Linked DNA regions of Homo sapiens: all the other regions are linked to region 3. Evidence: promoter capture Hi-C in 16 types of primary human blood cells and fetal thymus (Javierre and others, 2016). All regions are on one chromosome and are shown on one strand. Each heading gives the region's core, a stretch centred on a gene start or on the middle of the fragment in contact. The rest is flanking DNA. Distances are from core to core; before and after follow the strand shown.

What was found. Contacts are between HindIII fragments. The CHiCAGO score rates a contact against its expected background, and 5 or more counts as called.
Region 1: a fragment that was not itself captured here is called in contact with the fragment with the promoter of PRSS12 in region 3 in 1 of 17 cell types (M1 macrophages); the score reaches 5.8 in M1 macrophages.
Region 2: a fragment that was not itself captured here is called in contact with the fragment with the promoter of PRSS12 in region 3 in 1 of 17 cell types (M2 macrophages); the score reaches 5.3 in M2 macrophages.

Annotation. Positions count from the first base shown.
Region 1 is chr4:116,397,364-116,400,063 of GRCh38, forward strand. No RefSeq gene overlaps it. Among named protein-coding and RNA genes, the nearest start is that of MIR1973, 99 kb to the left of the region's middle. The HindIII fragment of the contact is 1,137 bases long and covers 842-1,978 here.
Region 2 is chr4:116,375,721-116,378,420 of GRCh38, forward strand. No RefSeq gene overlaps it. Among named protein-coding and RNA genes, the nearest start is that of MIR1973, 77 kb to the left of the region's middle. The HindIII fragment of the contact is 1,037 bases long and covers 887-1,923 here.
Region 3 is chr4:118,351,558-118,354,257 of GRCh38, forward strand. It overlaps PRSS12 (serine protease 12), which reads right to left and starts at 1,446. Exons shown (of 13, transcript NM_003619.4): 1 at 662-1,446. The coding sequence starts at 1,163. RefSeq lists an enhancer at 1,191-2,036 and silencers at 1,303-1,382, 1,413-1,672. The HindIII fragment of the contact is 7,140 bases long and covers 1-2,252 here.

The DNA.
Region 1 (2,700 bases), core at 160-2,659, 2.0 Mb before region 3:
TTGTATTTCTTTTGAAAAGAGGCTTTCTTGGTCATATAAGGAAATTTCAGAGCTACTTCTCCTTGCACTTTGGGTGGGAGAGGGAAATAAGGCAGGGTTTGAGGGATGTTGATTCTGAGACAGCATCTAAAGCCTCTTAGCATGTCAAAGCCCCAGTCTTTGGAGTATCACTTTCTGAGCCCCAACAGAGAAAAATCACCATGAGGAACAACACTAAATGGCATATCTAAAAGAGACAAAAGTTTAAGGTATAGATGATTATTTGGCAAACAAGTAGTGATAGATTATTAACATCATTTAATAAAAGTAGACTTAATTCATATAAAGTCCTTCAGTATCTTGCACAATATGATGGGAAGAAGAAAGTATTTTTTCCCCATGTCTAAAATTTATTTAATACTTTTTCCTTATAATTATATGTCCTTCTGGAAGAAAATGCTTAGAAGCAGTTACTATAAAACAGTTATTATTGACTCCTGCTATTAATATGTCATGGAGGCAAATGTAAAGAAGAAAGAATATTTGTTAGGTTATTTTTTAATTTTATTTTCCTAAGTCAGCATTTTTGGAAGTATCTTTAGGATTATTTAATTAGAAATATTATTTTTCTTAGGACCTAATATAAAGACACTGGATTTATTCTCGTGTTATTAAATGCGTATACCAAGAAACATTTTAATATGCAAATTAGAAACAATGCTATATGTCTAGCATCGAATTACACATTTTGTAATTTTTATATAATTTAATCTTTAAAAATGCAATTACCACAAAAGTAGACAGTGGCCATTTTTATTCCAATTTTCTAGATGAGGAAATTAGTGTTGAGGGGCAAATGAAAAGCTTTATAGCTGTTTGAACTCAGATCAGAACCGTTTTTTTTTAAACTTCAAATCTTTGCTCTTTCTATTGTATAATACTGCTTCCAGTAGACATATTAATATATGTCTGTTGGTGAATGCATTTGGGCAGGAAGAACTACTACATTTAAGATAATATTTTATTCTTAAATGTTTCTCAGGAATTTTAAAGATATGCATAATTTTCAGACAGCATTTATGTTATTCATATTTGAGCAGTTATTATCAGCTTTCTTAGTTACAATTTACTGGGCACTACCATCATAATATTTTGTCAGAGAAAAATTGTTCTGTTAACTAAAAAGTAATTTTACTGTCAATAAGCAATAGGTGACACAGCCAATATTTATTTTATTCTACTTTAAATTTAGAAGTGAAAACTTATTTTCCCAAAGGAATGTCTTCTTGAAAAGTGTGTTTTCATTTTAAAAATTACATTTGTACCTAAGATATTAATGTGGAAATCATGATATTAAATAACAGTTCTAAAATTGTAATGGGGATTATGATTTCATAAGAAGAAAATTATTTATGGAGGTAACGTTATTGTATAATTTCCTATGGGATCTCTACATCAGGGCTGGTTTTATTAGATCCTAAAACAAGTCACCTACATTCACTTTAGGATATAAAGTAATGTTAAATTAATATTGCAAAGCAGTTCACAGTGTGAGCAAAGACATCTGTTTATGTTACCATAAATAGTTATGAACTGAGGAGCTCAAATGGCTTTGCCAGCAAAGCATTGCCTCCTAATTTATTTTTATAGAAAATGGAAGCCTCATTTTTCATGATTGGGTAGTTTGCATTCAAATGTACAAGTAACTTCAAATGCAATCACTTTTACACAGCATGTTTTATTGCAGAGCCATAGGATGAAATTGCTAATGGTCTCTTGTGGGGTAGTCATGTTCTCCGATGAAAATTTTATTTTATTTCATAATATTTTTAAACTTAATTTCAAAATTGAGATTCACTTCTTTAGAAAACAATGTAATAAATGTAAAATTAAGAAGGCTTTAATATAATGTTGATGTGTAGAGTCGAAAATGAAAATATGAATGTTCTGTCTAAGAATCTTGGAATTCTGCAAGTTCATTCTTGAGTGCTGAAACTGAAGCTTTTTCTATAGGTTTTTTTGTTTTGTTTGTTTGTTTGTTTTTGTTTTTTTAGACACAGTCTCGCTTTATCACCCAGGCTGGAGCGCAGTGGAACGACACGGTTCACTGCAACCTCCGCCTCCCAGGTTCAAGCAATTCTCTTTCCTCAGTCTCCCATGTAGCTGGGATTACAGACACCCACCACCAAGCCCAGCTAATTTTTGTACTTTTAGTAGAGACAGGGTTTCCCCATGTTGGCCAGGCTGGTCTTGAACTCCTGACCTCAGGTGATCCACCCGCCTCGGCCTCCCAAAATGTTGGGATTACAGGCGTGAGCCGCTGCGCTTGGCTGGATTTTTTTTTTTTTAACAAAGAAAGTGGGAAATCTAAACTATTAAAAATATCTGAATTATTAAAATGTTACAGAGAGAAAATTTTCTGTGAATAAAACATTTTAAATGATTGTTTTGCTGATTGAATATAATAACAGAAAACAGCACAAGTATTATATTTCCAGACATGCAACCTTAAATTTTGAAAAAGTTAATTCTTAATTTTTAGAAAGCAGAGATTGTAAATTTACATGGATATTTCTATTTATCCTAATGGACATAAAATATAAATAAAATATTTTTAACTCTAAATGTATGGCATTTATGCAAAATAATACTTGTTCACATGAAGAATTATATCTAAATATTTATAAACATTTTAAGAAGAAATGACTCAGTAATTTCACG
Region 2 (2,700 bases), core at 155-2,654, 2.0 Mb before region 3:
GTTTGAAGAGACCACTAAGGGTATGGCCAAATCACCAAATAAAGAGAATAGTCAGCTATCTCAACCAGAAGCCTGGAGCTACTGTTCAATACAGTGGAAGAGTGGAAAGGAAGGGCTGACAGCCTGTGAACCAGGAAGTGAGCCCTCACCAGATGCTGAATCTGTCAATACATTGATCATGAACTTTCTTGTCTCCAGAACTGTGAGAAATAAATTTCTGATATTTATAAGCTACTTAATTTATGATATTTTGTTATAGCAGCTTGAACAGACTAAACCAATAGACATTCTGCTCTCATTCCTGATTTTAAATAGTACAATTCTTATATTTTACCATAATGTGTGATATTCATTATGGCTTTTTAATGATTATTTTATCAGATTGAGTTTTAAAATTTTAATCCGAATAGATTTTGAATCATGTTGCATTCATTCTGCATCTATTGAGATAATCATATTTTTGTAGTGCTAGATAATTTAGGAGACTTTATATTTAGAACAGTTTCAGTTTTATAACAAAATTGAACAGAAATACGAGAGTTCCCATATTTTTACTATTCTCACACATGTGCAGCCTCCCACACTATGAGCATTCCCCACTAGAGTGTTACATTTATTATAACTGATGAACCTACATTGGCATGTCTCAACACCATTCAAAGTTCATAGCTTACACTAGAGTTCTGCCTTAGTATTATACAAGACAATAATATGTTTTTAACTTGATATTTCAGTACACTGGGTTATATTAATATATGTCTAAATTTATAAAGAGAAAACTGAAAAAAAGTTAAGTTATACAAGGCAGGGAAGTTAGAATTCAAATCCTGTCATTCTAGTTTTAAAGTCTATATATACCTTTATCCATTATAATACAGTGTCTATAAGCTTATGCTGTTTACAAGGAAAGCACACAAAGTAGAAAGTCAAAAAATGGAAAACAAGATATATGAATTATTATGAGATTTTCCTACTATATGTCTAGGTATGGATTTTTTTTTACTCTGTCCATTCAGGGTTTTGTTTCTTTTATTTCCCTGCATCCCCACATGAAATATATATTCCAAGCGATTACTAATGTATTTTTCATAGACTCTAGATTGTTTCAATGAATTTTTTATGTCAAAATGTACTTGCAGAATATTTAGCATATTGTAAATGACTGATAATTGTAGTACATGAATAAACATCTTTAAGCTATGCACTTCAAATAATCTAATTTCAGACATATGGGGTGTGAATGATTGTCCTCTGTCCACTTCATCACATATGCCTTTGTAGCATTTCTTGAGCATTTGTGCATATCATATCCTAATATAATAAGACATGTAATTTCTTTTCAGAGTGGAGGTGGCTGTGAAAATAATAACAACATATAATTCCAAGAAACTTCATCACTTAAGTATTTTTTACTCATTTTGTTTGTGAGAAAGCTGAGGCTTAGTGAAATTAAGTTTCCCATGGTAACACAATGTTGGAACAAAATTGGAAATGAACTCTGTCCTATCTGAGGCAGTCTGAGTTTTTCTAACATTACTGTGTCATGTGTAGAAGACTCGAAAGCTCCCCATCTGTTTCATCTTCCTACTAGGTGTCTCTGCACTAGTCATGTCTTCATAATATTGCTAACCAAGTTTAATTAAAACACGCTTTTATTAAAAAACAAAATAAAACCTTTACATCTAGTATTTTTTTAGTATTTCTATAATCTGATCATGTTCTAACTATCCAAAATTAGTTTCTATTAGTTTTATCTGAACTTCTTTTTTTGCTCTTTCTTGACTTCTTATCTCTATATCTGCTCTGTAAGATTCTTTTGTTTCATGTTTGTTAACACTCCATGGACCTATCTTATTTTTCTGTAAAATAATTGAAATATTTTCCAAGGTTCAAAAGATAGATAAAATCCTACAACCTCTACAAAGCTTTTTATGAGTATTATTTTTCTGAATCTTCATTGGCCTTTAAATAGAGTACACATTTCCCCTGGATATTTTTTCAATAATACTTTAAAATTAGCATAAGCATTTTTATATTGCTTGATTAATACCTACATTTTAAAAACCATGCCACATCACTAAAGACCACCACACTAATGAAATATTTTTTAATGTTACACATAGCATTATTTCAATTATTGATGTGACATATAATTATTAACAACACCATTAAAACATGACATCACTAAATAGAAATGAAGACTAGTGTAATGGAAAGAAAATTTGCTATGGTCTTAAACAGGCTTGAATTCACACCTGATTTGATCATTTATAAGATATGTGATATGGGGTGATTATTAAGGTTATCTGAGATCTTTTTTCTTTTGAAAAATAATTTTGATAAACTTATCTTCTCTGCATAATTCATAAACTTGATTTAAGTCTTTTCATATGTTACGGAATTCCATTTAGACTAATGTACCTAGAACAGATTTCTTCTCCAACTGTTCTCCATTCTCTCACTCTACTTTTCCACACAAAATTATCACTCCCAGAAAGTGAAACATTTCTTTATTTTGTCTTTTATACTAACCTCTATGACCACATCGATCTTGACTGTTTTAATCACTGTTATAACACAGAAGCAGGAAAAGTTCTCCAAATCTAGTAATACATTAACATGTAATTAAAATATATTAATTTTAATTAAAAATGTGTTAATATTTAATATAAACATTAAATATGAATATACATGTTTTTC
Region 3 (2,700 bases), core at 196-2,695:
TATATTAAGTTGCTACTTCACCAAGATAGTAGTATTCCCATCTCTTTTCCCTTTCTTTTTTTCCAGTCACTGATGATACTTACCATACTGAGCTGGAGTATGTGAATATGGCTGATTTTGGCCACATAATTTTGCCATACTTTTTAAAACAGAGGTCAACAGCTAAATTAAGGCAAAATTTTACCACATTTTTAAAAATCGGAGTCTAAAGAATGGAGGGAAGGTTATTGATTGCCACGTTAATGTAACATTTCCCTTTCCAGAACAAGTAATTATGCCTCTTTAATGTAAATATGGTAACCCACTCAACGTAAGCTAATCTAGAGAACAGACGCCCAAAGCACACTGTCACCCAATACACGAGCGCACACACACACACAGTGGCCAGAGGACAGAGCAAATTCAGAAACCCAGAGCTCAGCACCTTGCATAGAACTGTCACCCCTGACAACCTTCACACAAGCACACCTGGCTGGCTTAGATTTGCAGCACCAGTATACCTTACTGGTAACCCAGCTGCAGCCCACCATCACAGCCCGCAAACGCAAGCCCACAACCCCACACACCCCGTCACTTTTTCCAAGAGACCTGTACGCCGGCCCCAAGCCTCACTGGCTCCGAGCCCGTCCGGAGTTTCCGCGGCCGCCCCGAGGCCACTAACCGTGTCTGCAGTCGCAGTAGCCCCAGTCCACCTTGCCACGGGCGTCTCCGTAGAAACACCAGGGTCTGCCCGCGCCGTCGGGGCTCCGACAAAAGTTGTGGCGCTGTCCTCGCAGCTGAGCCCAGCTCGCTGGGGGCGACCGCTCCAGGAAGGGTGGCACCTCCGCCCACCGCAGACACGGGGCGCCGAAGTCCGTCACGCTGACCCATGGCTCGCCGGCGGGGCAGCCCCAGGGGTGCGGCCGGGGCGTGTGCCCGGCCTGGAGGGCGTGCGGGCGCTGGGCAGGGAGCGCCCGCGGGGGGCGCGGGAAGCGCGGGAGAGGCGGCGGCGGACGCGTCCTCGGGGGCCGCTGCTGGGTGGGAAGGTAATAGGGGTAGTGCGGACCCGCAGGGGGCGAATGGCGGTGGCTGTGGTGGAGGGAATCATTGAGGACAGAATCAAAGCCGACCACTTCGGGGAGCGCCCCTAACATCAGGGCTAGCACGAAGCGGGCGAGCGTCATGGTGCCAGCGCTGCGGGGTCTGGTCCATGCTCCCCAGCTTCTCGGGCTTGGAGCGGAGAAGAGGAGGGGGCGGGGGCGGGGCTGCCGCGTCCCTCGAATCCCCCAGCCCCCTCCCGCCCCCGCACGCGGACCGCCCTCGCCTCCCCAACCTTGCCTCCCGCCGCTGGTGCCCTGCCGCGCCTCGGCTCCTGTCCCCTGGCGGCGGCCGCGGGTGGGGAAATCTGGAGCTCAGCCGAGCCCCGGCCGGCGGAGAGGACCGGAAAAGAGAAGGCGCGGACGCAGCGGGGAGCGGTTGGGCCTGAGCCCCAGGTAGCGGCGCAGGCACGAGCCCGGGAACTCTGCCCCCTGGGGGCGGGCGCCGGCCGCGCAAGCTGCTCCGGACCTACGCTCGGCCCCTGCCAGGCCCACCGCAGTCCGCCCGCACGGCACTGCCAGCTGCTGGGACCGAGCCCGAGGGTGCCCGCGCGGAGCACGGTCTTGGCTGCCCCTTGCCAGCATGCAGCACCAGCACAGCCCGGCGTTGGCGGCTCCCAAATCTGGCACCGGCCCCTGCCGTCATCTCTCCTCCAACCTCGTCGCCCCGTATCTTGCTTCCTCTGTTTTGAAATCTTTACCAAAGTATGGATGGATTTAGATGCAGCTCTTCCCTGACAACTCCCAGGATAAAAGTTATCAAAACCCACGAGGAATGTTAAAGCCATTTCACTGAACTATACGCTCTTCAAGGACAAGACCACGTTTTATTCAGCTTGATATCACCGTGCTTAACACCGTGCCCCAATAAACATTGGCTGAAATTAAAATCCTGAACCGACTCAGGGAAAGGAGCTTGAGCCTTTCTGCTTCCTGCCTCCCACTTTCCAGCCGGTGCCCTGGACAACACCAGTTGTTTGGTTATTATTGGGATTCAGTGAGGCTCTCTTAATACCAAATTTCCTCTCTAACCAGAGAAGACTTCATCCGTCCCGGTTTCCATCCTATCCAAAAAGTCCACCCCCCTAGCACCTGCCTCGTTTTTTGCAGGGCAAGGGACTTCTGTTAAGCCTATTCATTTGCCTCTCCAGAGACTCTGCCTGCTGACAATTTTGAAGCTTCACTGTTGGCTCGACCTCAGCTTAGTAGGGCCCTTTCAACACTCCTCGCCCCCCTCCCGCAGGCTCCAAAAAACTGTTGGCTTAGAATCTTAAAAAAAAAAAGTTACTGGAGCTGTATGTTTTAGTATTTTGCCTTTCAGTTGTTTCTGACTATGCTACCAAAGTTTGACAAGGAGAAGGAAGCCCGTAAAGAAGGCAACATTTTATTTTCTGGCATGGTCACGTTTCGTTGTGAAAAAGCAATGCTGTCTCATAATATAATGTACCCTGAAGAAAACTTGAACAAAATTCAAATGTTTATTGTTAAAACCTAGGTTTCAATTAGGAACTGAATTAATTCACTACTAGCTTTAAATAAGCCATCTTTAGCCGGGCGAGGTGGCTCACACCTGTAATCCCAGCAGTTTGGGACGCCCAGGCAGGCGGATCACATGAGGCCAGGA